Regions from separate parts of the Homo sapiens genome. Here region 2 is linked to region 1. Evidence: promoter capture Hi-C in 16 types of primary human blood cells and fetal thymus (Javierre and others, 2016). All regions are on one chromosome and are shown on one strand. The core of a region is centred on a gene start or on the middle of the fragment in contact, and the rest is flanking DNA. Distances in the headings are between cores, read along the strand shown. Region 1 holds the start of HPCAL4 (hippocalcin like 4). Region 2 has its middle 19 kb from the start of MFSD2A.

Evidence for each region. The method cuts DNA at HindIII sites, captures the fragments that hold promoters and counts their contacts. A CHiCAGO score of 5 or more calls a contact.
Region 2: a fragment that was not itself captured here is called in contact with the fragment with the promoter of HPCAL4 in region 1 in 1 of 17 cell types (megakaryocytes); the score reaches 5.1 in megakaryocytes.

The regions. Positions count from the first base shown.
Region 1 is chr1:39,688,702-39,694,191 of GRCh38, forward strand. It overlaps HPCAL4 (hippocalcin like 4), which reads right to left and starts at 2,732. Exons shown (of 4, transcript NM_016257.4): 1 at 2,605-2,732. RefSeq lists silencers at 1,008-1,234, 2,509-2,588, 2,809-3,038 and an enhancer at 3,111-3,701. The HindIII fragment of the contact is 11,293 bases long and covers 1-3,072 here.
Region 2 is chr1:39,971,835-39,977,324 of GRCh38, forward strand. No RefSeq gene overlaps it. Among named protein-coding and RNA genes, the nearest start is that of MFSD2A, 19 kb to the left of the region's middle. The HindIII fragment of the contact is 3,388 bases long and covers 306-3,693 here.

The sequences.
Region 1 (5,490 bases), core at 1,482-3,981:
TCATTGCTCACTCACCACCGCATACTCCTCTCAAGCCAGCCTTCTCACAGCCAGACACGCCTCACCTCTTTGCTAAGCTATTTTCCTCTCCCCTAATATCCTTTCTTCTCTCCTGGACTATAATCAGTCTTCAGGGCCTGGTTGAAGCCTGCTTCCTTATGATCAGCCTTTTCCAGTCTGGACAGTGGAGAGTCAGCAGCCCAAGCTCAGCACTTTGGGCATGAGTCAGTCCCCCACAGGCGTGTAGACTTCATAGCCCTCTGACCCTCACCTGGTGCTGTAGAATTCCAGGATGCAGTCTGATTTGAGACAGGTCTTTGCATTAAACCCCTGCCTGAGTCAGAAAAAAAATCCTCCAGACCTTTTTGCTCAATGGCAAGGAGTTGATCCCCTCCAATATGCCCCAGTCCACTTTTGAGCAGGTTGAAGCGTGAGAAAAGTTTATTTTTCCCATGGGGAAAATAAAAGTGCTTTTCCCTATGCACTCACTTCTCCCAGTGAGTGCTTAGTCCTCACTGAGTCTGGGACCCATGAGAGCAGGGGTTTTTTCTCTCTTATAGCTCCCCTACCCTGGTTCCCACCCTGCCTTCTGTGCCTGCACAGAACTGCTCTGTGGAGACGCAGTGGCAATGCCTAGGACACAGTGATGTTCAATGAATGTCTCTTGGTGGATTACGTAAGAGGAGCAGAACCCCCTTCTTCCTCCCTGGATCTATGTCAGGCTGTTTTGTTTATCTGTGTTCTCCTGCTATCACACCCACTTCAGAGACAATGGAACCCAGACCTAGGGGAAGGAAGGGTTCACCCCAGGTCAACTATAGCCCATCAGCAGCAAAGTGAAGGCCAGAACCCAGCTGGGGACATGCTCTGCTGGAGCTGTGGCCCTGCTGAACATGGGCAGGCTCCTCTGCTTACCTCTTGAGGGCTGTCCTCCAGCTATGAAGGAGCTGGGACTGTCCCATACACAAAACCATTGTCCCAGTGTGCCCAGAGGTTTCTTCAAGAGGGCTAAGGGCTGTGGGCTTTGAATGGAGAGGTGGCTGAGGCTTTGAATGGGAGGGACTGAAGGAGGCAATAATCCCACACCCTCACCCAGCTTCAGAGGAGCTGGTACTGAGGTGGTTGCCATGGTGACAATAGCTCCCTGGTCAGGAGATTTTTTCTCTCTTTCCTCTCCTCCCTTTGCTCTTCCCCAAGCAGCAGCAATAGCAGCAGCAACCAGGTCTTTTCCCTCTTCTTCTTAATGAGAGGCAGGGGATGACAAACAAAGAGTAATCCCAGCTGGCCACCTACAATTTGGAGCTGTCCATGTCAGGATGGGCTGGTGGTCTAGGAGGGACTCCTAATAGAAGGGGCCTGGAGAATGTGTGGGAGGAGGTAGCCTGTACCTAGGCTGGTTAAGAAGGAATGTGTCTTCAGTGAGTTCTAAACCAACCCCGCCCCCCTCAGGTCTCCTCTCTTTAATGTCCTCTTGGTTCAGGATCCTGTTTTTCCATAATCAGCCATAGAACCAGAGTGTCTCAGTGCCAGAAGGCTGTTCAAGTTCATCTCACCCAGTCTACCCTCTCTGTTATACCTCTCCCCATTTTCATGAAGGATCAGAGAGGGGAGTGACTTGGCCAAAGTCAAACTTTGGCTGTACAAGATTTGAACCCAGCTCATCTGCCCTCCAGGTATAGTTCACTTTAGGGCCAAGAGCAATACAGCCCACATGGCACCTTGGCAAGGTCCCCACGGAGCAGCAGGAAGGTGGGAGAGAGGGAGCAAATAGTCATACAAATTAGAAAGACATTTGACAGGCAGAATGAGAGGATTTGGTGCCTGGCTGTGAGGGGGGAGGGAGGAGGTATGGAGGTTGGGGCCTTGGCAGCAACTGGACTGACGGTATGGGTGGTCTGCTGGGGGTGGTGTCTTTGGTTCATCCTCCCGCCAGGATGAGAGATGCCAAATATGGGGCCTCTGCCTAGCACTGGGGGCCACTGGGGAGGGCTGTCGAGACTGTGAGGAGAAAAACTGGGGAAGGGGGATTGTCCCCCCCTCAGGTATGCTGTGGGCTCTGTCAGCTTGAGGGGTGGGATGTGGGGACAGTGTCTGGGGACAACAAGGAGGGAGCGCTCTGTGGAGGGGGAGGCTGTCTTTGGGGGCAGGGGCTCCCTGATGAGAAGTGGCTAGGGGCTATCCGTGGAGGTGGGAGTTTGCCATGGTGCTGGGCAGACAACCCATATCCAAACAGGAGGGAGGGTGACCAGCGCCTCCAGCTAGCACCAGCGCCACCACACCCCCAGATGTGTGTGTGTGCATCTGTGTGTGTATGTGTGTTTGCGCGCGTGTATGTTGGGGGCCATAGCAATGGTTGTTCTCACCTGAGCTGGGGATAAGTAGGCGGCTCTGCCTCCTTCTCTGCACCCATGGGCCTGGACTGAGGTGGGGGGTCTCCTGCCCAGGGGTGGGCTCTTCAGTTGCTGCCGCCTAAGGCGGAACCACGGGTCAGGGAGGTGAATCAGGGCAGGACATGAGGATGGGAAGGGAGAGTGGAGGGGGAGGGGGCCAGGGCCTCCGCCCGGTGGGTTTGTTGCCTTGAGGACCCGGTCCCACTCGCATTACCTGAGGCCGGTCGCCGGGTCGCTGGATGGCTCCGAGCCTCGGCGGGCCGCGGGAACCGAGGCTGGCTCGCGGGCCGGCAGCTGTGCTCTCCAAGGTCTGCGCCGGAGCCGCCTTCCAGCTCTTGTATCACTATGTGCCTCCCGAAGGCGACACTATTTGCATAAGCCCCGCCCCATCCCGGGCAGGTTGCACGGCTATTGGCTCCTCTGGAGCGGAGTGGCAGGCGGGGTTTCAGGTGGGGACCGGGTGGCCGGCGAGGCCCGGCCGCAGGAGCGCGCCCCGCCTGCCCGCGCTGACCTTCCCGGAGTCGCCGGGAAGCGGGAGGGCTGCACCCCCATCTGCACCCCTGCCCTGAGGCTCAGCCCCCGGCTTACAAGTCTGGGGTGGAAAGGGTCGACGATGAAAGTGGATTCTCAAAAACAACCTCACCGTTGCTATGGAAACGGGAGAACCACAGCCGAATCTCTAAGCTTCCTTTCCTGGGCCCCAGCATGGGTGGGGGCGGAAGAGGGGATGAGTCACAAGATGAGACCCCCCCCCACACCCATATCCCACCCGAAATTGGGAGGGGCCAAAGAGGAGCTGGGGAGGAGCTGGGTGGGAGAGGGAGGAGGTGGCTGGTCAGCAGTCCACATCTCTGCGTCCCCCCTCCCCACGCATCCACTCCCCTCACGCCGTGGGGCAGAGAGGAGGGTGCTGGTTGCGCGCGGAGAGCGCGGTATGGGTGGCGAAGTCCCAGCCTCTACCTAGCCCCGCGCTAGTCGTGGGTTCCCTCCAGCCACCCCTCTGGCCCTTCATTCCGGTCCCTCCCCAGACGGGCCCTCCTCCTTTCTCATGGACCCCCAAGAGGCCTCTCGCGTTCTCCCCCGAAGGACCCCTATGCCTAGCCATGGATCCTCCATTCCCCACCCTCCCGTTTTCCCGTCCCGCAGACGGAGCCGGTCCCCAGCCGCCGCCAGTCTCCGGCCTCGGATGTTGACACAAACCCGAGGCGGTTTACACTGAGCGGGTCTGGAAGCTTTCAGGGCCCCGGCAACACCTCCTCCCCGCACTTGGGGGTCTCCCCACAGCCCGGGCCGGCCGCCTGGGCTGCACTGGCGTCTGAGAGCTCCTGACACAAGGCTGTGGGAAGGAACCCTTTTAAGCCAAACTGGGGGCAAAAGGGGAGCCAGACATCCCCGGGCTGGGCCACGTGCGGGGCAGGGACTTCTAAGGATCTGTCGAAAGTCGGGGCGGACGGCTGGGGATTGGCCTAATCGGAGCGCGGACGCTGAAGAGCAGCGGTGAGAGGCGGGGCTTCTGTCCGCGCGGCGAAGGTAGAGGTGGGCTGGGCGGGGCGATGGAGGATGGGGTCAGACCTGCCGCGAGTGGGGGCGAGGCTTCTGGAGCTGGTCCCAGAAATGCCTGGGCCAGGCTCGCTGGGGGAGGAACCCGTGGACGTCCCTTTTCTTTAGGACCTGTCCCGTTGCCCCTTGAAACGGTTTTGCTCTACCATTTTCGAGGCTGCGGACTATGCCTTCTCTCTGCGGCCTTAGCGGGGGCTGAGGGCTCCAAGGAACCTGCAGCTGTAGGAGAAGGCGCGTCCTTGGCACTATGGGTTGGTGACTCATGAAAGACAGGTGTTTGAAGCTCTAACTCTTTCACTTCTCTGATACCTTCTCAGCTCTGGGTCTTGGGGACCCAGAGATGAGCGAGAACCCCCCTTGCTCACAGTTAACCATAATCCAAGGCGTGAAGAAGTGGGGAGAGGCAGCACAGGTTACTAGAAGTGGTATCTGAAACCCTAACATTGACTGACCCAAGTTCATATTGCTAACATTGAGTCTCATTTTTGCCAATGATTCCATTTACGACCGTGGGCAAAACCCTTCTCATTCTGGGCCTCCCAGTCTGTGAAATGTGGGAGCTGGCTCAAGAGGTCCAGAGGAGCAGGGGGAAATTTTCAACCAGGTGGGTGAAGAAAGACTGTCCCTTGGACAGAAGTATGTGGACATGAATCTGACTGCTCCACTTAAGAGTCCTGAGCCCCTTAACAATAGCTAATGTGTATCGAGAGCTTACTTTGTGTCAGGTGCTATTCTAGCATATTATATGTTACCATATAATATAAATTGGGAATAAGTTACTCAATTTATTCCCCATAAGAGCTCTGTGAGGCAGGTTCTATTATTACTCCTACTTAACAGATGAGGAAATCAAGGCACAGAGCGGTTAAGTGACTGACCCAAGTTCACATTGCTAGTAAAGAGAGCTCCAGTGCTGGGATTTGAACCCCAGCAGTCTAGCCTCAGAGCCCACACTCCTAATCAGTACACAATACTGCCTCTTCTTATGGTCCTTCAAGTCCTTAAGGGTAAGGACCTTAGATTGGAATATTTGTTTCTGATTCCCCAAGGTATTAGAAAGGCAAAATCCAGCCTCCTGGGCAGCCCTTCTGTCTCAGGTGAACAAGATATGGGATTCCAGCAGTACAGTAAACTAGAAGTAGTGAAAACAAGAAGCCCTCCTGGGCTCACACCCAGGATTTATGCCTGTAATCCTAGCACTTTGGGAGGCTGAGGCGGGTGGATCACTTGAGGTCAGGAGTTTGAGACCAGCCTGGCCAACATGGCAAAACCCTGCCTCCACTAAAAATACAAAATACAAAAATACAAAAATAAGGAGGCTGAGGCAGGAGAATCGCTTGAACCCAGGAAGCAGAGGTTGCGGTGAGCTGAGATCACGCCACTGCACTCCAGCCTGGGCAACAGAGTGATATACACACACACACACAAAAAAAAAAAAAAAAAAAAAAAAAAGCAGCAGCCCTCCTGAACTGCAAGGGGGCCAGAGTGTGGCTTCTCCTGGCCATCCTATCCTCCAGGCATGACTACCCATGCAGCCTCA
Region 2 (5,490 bases), core at 750-3,249, 280 kb after region 1:
AGGAGGCAGCAGTTGCAGTGAGCTGAGATCGCGCCATTGCACTCCAGCCTGGGGGACAGAGAGAACCAGTCTCAAAACAGAAACAAACCAAAAACCAACAAACAAAAACAAAACTAGCCAGGCGTGGTAGCACATGCCTGTAATCCCAGCTACTTGGGAGGCTGAGGGCAGGAGAATGGCTTGAACCTGGGAGGCGGAGGTTGCAAAGAGCTGAGACCATGCCATTGCACTCCAGCCTGGGCAACAGAGCAAGACTCTGCCTGAAAAAAAAAAAAAAAAAAAATTAAAGTTTTCCAAACCACTCAAGCTTGTTTCTTTCTTAGCCCCACAATTACTTCTCAGGCATTATGCTCTCTTACCTGGGTGAATAGACAAGCATCCTGTCTTGTCTCCTTGACTTTAATTTGATCTCCTCACCTTCTTTCTGCAAACTATCCAAGATAACTCAGTAGCTCTCCTGTTTAGAAACATTTCTGTAAACTGGGTGTAGTGGCTCTGCCTGTAATCCCAGCTACTGGGGAGGCTGAGGTGTGAGGATTACGAGGCCAGGAGTTCAAGACCAGCCTGGGCAACATAATAAGACCCCGATTCTATAAAACAAAAAACAATTAGCCAGGTGTGGTGGCTTGCACCTTGTAGTTCCAGCTACCCAGGCAGCTGAAGCAGGAGGGTCTCTTGAGCCCAGGAATCTGAGGCTGCAGTGACCTATGATTGTGCCACTGCACTCCAGCCTGGGGAACAGAGGGACACCCTGTCTCAAACAAAACAAAAAGTTTCCTAGAAATCCTTCTGTGAGTTCCTGTCTGAGTACCCTACTGACCTCCCCAGGCCCAGATCTAGATGCAGCTCTTTTTGCAGGCCACCTGCGTGACCCTGGTCTTGCAGCTCCTGCTGCAGCTCTACCTGGCAGACACCCATCCAATGTGTCTTGACTCCAGCAAGCCCCTCTGAAGCAGTCCCTACCCCTCTGCCTTTGGGACATCTCAGAGGGATCGTCTCTTTCATCGTGGTCTCCCACACTGAGCCGAGGGCCAGGCATGGTGGGGTGCGGCAGGCACGTGGAGCTGAGTGAATGGGAGCTGTGACCAGAGCAGGCTTTGGCTGGGCATCAGACCCAACTCCCACTGACCCACTGTGACACCTCTCTCCAGGTCACAATTTCCCCAAACTTCCTATGGGGATTTAGACTTTTCATTTTTTCTTTCTTTTTCTTTTTTTTTTTTTTTTTGAGACGGAGTCTCGCTCTGTGGCCCAGGCTGGAGTGCAGTGGCGCCATCTCGGCTCACTGCAAGCTCCGCCTCCCGGGTTCACGCCATTCTCCTGCCTCCGCCTCCGGAGTAGCTGGGACTACAGGCGCCCGCCACGCGCCCGGCTAATTTATTGTATTTTTAGTAGAGACGGGGTTTCACCGTGTTAGCCAGGATGGTCTCGATCTCCTGACCTCGTGATCCGCCCGCCTCGGCCTCCCAAAGTGCTGGGATTACAGGCGTGAGCCACCGCGCCCGGCCAGGGGATTTACACTTGAACACCCTTGCTTCTCTCCAGTTTCACACTCACAGAAAATTGCTCTCCTCTTCCAAGATCCCCTGTTGAATTCTTGGGGACTTCTTTCGGGGTGGGACGGGTGAAGAGGGGAAGCAATGTCTGTTGGGTCATTGGCTACTCTAGGTCCCTTCTGGACAGATCATACCTACTTATTCTTGGGAGAAGAGCCATATTGACTTCCTCTATGCTTGGATCCAGCATTACTACAACAAACCCTGTCTCTCCCTCTTCACTCGGCCCTGCTGCCCTGTCTTGCCAACCTCACAGCCCATCCACACCTCTGGTAAGGACCAGGTGCAGCTTTGGCGCCACCTGCTGGAAGAAAGGAGCAGCACCTCCACGTTTCAAAGAGGAAATTCCAGATCTGACATTGTTTTGGAATATCGATTCCATTGATCCGAACAGATATTTACAATGAGTCTACTATATGCCACACACCAACTAGGCTCTGAGGACAAAGTGGTGAACAAAATAGAGCTTACATTCTCAGTGGAGATCAATGACAAATAAATAATTTCAGATCGTAATAAGCATCATGAAAGAAGCGAGGTGATGTGATGGAGGAAACTGGTACGGAACTACTTTAAGTCAAGTGCTCAGGAAAGAATGTCCTGAGAAAGTAACATTTGGCTGGACACAGTGGCTCATGCCTGTAATCCTAGCACTTTGGGAGGCTGAGGTGGAAGGATCACTTGAGCTCAGGAGTTCGAGACCAGCCTAGGCAATAGAGTGAGACCTCATCTCTACTAAAGATAAAAAATTAAAAAAATTTAAAAAAAGAAAGAAAAAGAAAGTGATCCTCATGAAGGATGAGAATTAGCTAAATGTGAAGAGAGCTTAGAGGGAAAGCATTGCAAGTAGAGGAGACAACGCAGACCCCAAGGCCCCAAAGAGCTTGGAATATCGGAAGGACAGAAAGGAGACCAGTGTGGCCAGAGTGTAGTGAATGAGGCCAGGCACAATTGCTCAAGCCTGTAATCCCAGCACTTTGGGAGGCCGAGGCAGGTGGATTACCTGAGGTCAGGAGTTCGAGACCAGCCTGACCAACATGGTGAAACTCCATCCTACAAAAAATACAAAATTAGCCAGGCGTGGTGGTGCATGCTTGTAATCCCAGCTACTTGGGCAGGAGAATTGCTTGAACCTGGGAGGCGGAGGTTGCGGCGAGCCGAGATCGTGCCATTGCACCCCAGCCTGGGCAACAAGAGTGAAATTCTGTTTCAAAGAAAAAAAGAGAGTATCTCAGGGAGAAGGAACAGCATGTGCTAAAGCCCAGAGGCCAGGGAGATCATGGTGGAGTCAAGGAACAGAAAGGCCAGTGTGCCTGGAGCACAAAGATTGAGGGAATGGGATGCAAGATGAGGCTGAGGATGAAGGCAGAGGCAGATGGTCCACAACATGGCTTCGTGGGTTGTGTTAAGCATTTTGGTCCTTATCCTAAGAGCAGAGGGAGGCCATTGAAGAATTTTAAGCAGGGAAGCCATATGATAGATGAAGAGTTTGGAAAGACCTATCAGCTGCTCTGAGGAGAAAGAATTGAAGAAGGTGAGAAGGGAAGCTGGAAGACGAATGAAGAGGCTTCTCATGTAATGTTCCAAGGATGAGTGGTATTGATGAGTACAAGACGAGTGGAGGCAGTGGAGATAGAAAAGGACTGATTTGGCAGCTGGTAGGACTGGATATAATTGAGATGGAGAGGGAGAGGGGGAGAGAGTATGAAAGTGATGTCTATATTTCTTTTTCTTTTCTTCTTTTCTTTTCTTTTCTGAGCTGGAGTCTCACTCTGTCGCCAGGCTGGAGTGCAGTGGCACAATCTTGGCCCACTGCAACCTCCGCCTCCTGGGTTCAAGTGATTCTCCTGCCTCAGCCTCCCAAGTAGCTGGGATTACAAGCGAGTGCCACTACGCTCAGCTAATTTTTGTATTTTTAGTAGAGACGAGGTTTCACCATCTTGGCCAAGATGGTCTTGATCTCTTGACCTTGTAATCCACCCGCCTTGGCCTCCCAAAGTGCTGGGATTACAGGCATGAACCACTGCACCTGGCCTATATTTCTTTTTTGTTTGTTCGTTTTTAAGAGAACATCTCACTGTCGCCCAGGCAGGAGTGCAGTGGCACGATCATGGCTCACTGCAGCCTCCACCTCCCAAGCTTCAGCGATCCTCCTGTCTCATTTTTTGATTTTTTGTAGAGATAAGGTCTTGCTATGTGGCGAAGCCTGGTCTCGAACTCCTGGGCTCAAGCGATCCTTCCTCCTCAGCCTCCCAAAATGTTGGGATTACAGGTGTGAGCCATGGAGCCCGGCAATGCCTAGATTTCTATCTTGGGAAACAATGAGTAGGACTTCTAAACACAGCAAACATGAGCAAGTTTGGAGGCCAAAAAAATTCATTTGCCACTTGTTTGCAACATTTTCATATAAATAGGGAAGAAATCACACTTAGGAATTCCACTGTCAGGGACAAGCCTACAAACTATCACCACTACTACTATACAACATTTCTTTTTTTTTTTTTTGAGATGGAGTTTCGCTCTTGTTGCCCAGGCTGGAGGGCAGTGGCGAGCGATCTCTGCTCACTGCAACCTACACCTCCTGGGTTCAAACGAGTCTCCTGCCTCAGCCTCCCAAGTAGCTGGGATTATAGGCATGCGCCACCATGCCTGGCTAATTTTGTAGTTTTAATAGAGACGGGGTTTCTCCATGTTGGTCAGGCTGGTCTTGAACTCCTGACCTCAGGTGATCTGCTCACCTTGGCCTCCCAAAGTGCTGGGATTACAAGTATGAGCCACCACGCCCAGCCACTATACATTTCATTGGCCAATATAAACAAGCAATATAAATTGCATTAGATAATGTAATTAGACAAGAAAAAGAAATAAAAATTGGAAAGATATATGTAAAATGTTTAATTTTATTTTATTTATTTTTGTTTTTATACATTTTTTAAAAATAGGGTTTCACCATGTTGCCCAGGTTGGCCTTGAACTCCTGGACTCAAGGGATCCACCTGCCTTTAGCCTCCCCAAATGGGATTACAAGAGTAAGCCACTGCACCCGGCCTGGTAAAATTATCTTTATTTGTCAATGACATGTTTGTATTCCAAGAGAACCCAAGTGAATCAACTGAAAAACTACTATAAACGATGAGAAGTCTCAGTAAGGAAAAAGGGTATAAAATTATTACACAAAAATCAATCCCCTTCATATATACAAACTGCATTAAGCTAAATTGCATTGTTCAATGTAATAACCACACCACATTGCCTATTTAATTTTAAATTTAAAACGAATTGTTGGGAATAATGTTCAAAATCCTAAGGAAATTGAACACTCAAACACAGGATTCTTAGCAAAGCAATTTTACTTCTGCGCAGAGGGGTGCTTCTCCTTGGCCAGTCGCCATGAGAGCACACCTGAACAATGGAGCACAAGAGCCTTTATTCCTGACGCAAGTCCTGCCCCTGTACCCTTTTCCCATTGGCTGGGATCGGGTCGTACACTCTAAACTAATCCTGGTTGGCTAAACATTTGAACTTTTTTTACATAAGGTGGGCATGTAAGGGAGAGAGGGGAAAGGGAGAGGGGTATCTGCAATAAGCGAGAGAGCTAGTCTTCTTTCCAAATAAGGAAAGGAATGTGAGCTGGTACTGATAACGCCTGGTACTGTGGCGTGTCTGGGCATGTAACAAAAGCAGAAAGGAAGAAAAAAAAAGAAAAAGAAAAAAGGGGTGGGTAGGGGGGTACTATAAATTAAAGAATAAAGGATTGATCAGGCTATTTGAAGAGAAACCTCATCATATCCCACATAATTGAAATCAAATAAATTTAAAAATCAATTCCTCAATCACGCTAATCACATTTTAAGGTCTCATTACCACATGTGACTGTTGGTTACTGTATTATAGAATATGCTGTATCAGAACATTTCAATCATTGCAGAAAGTT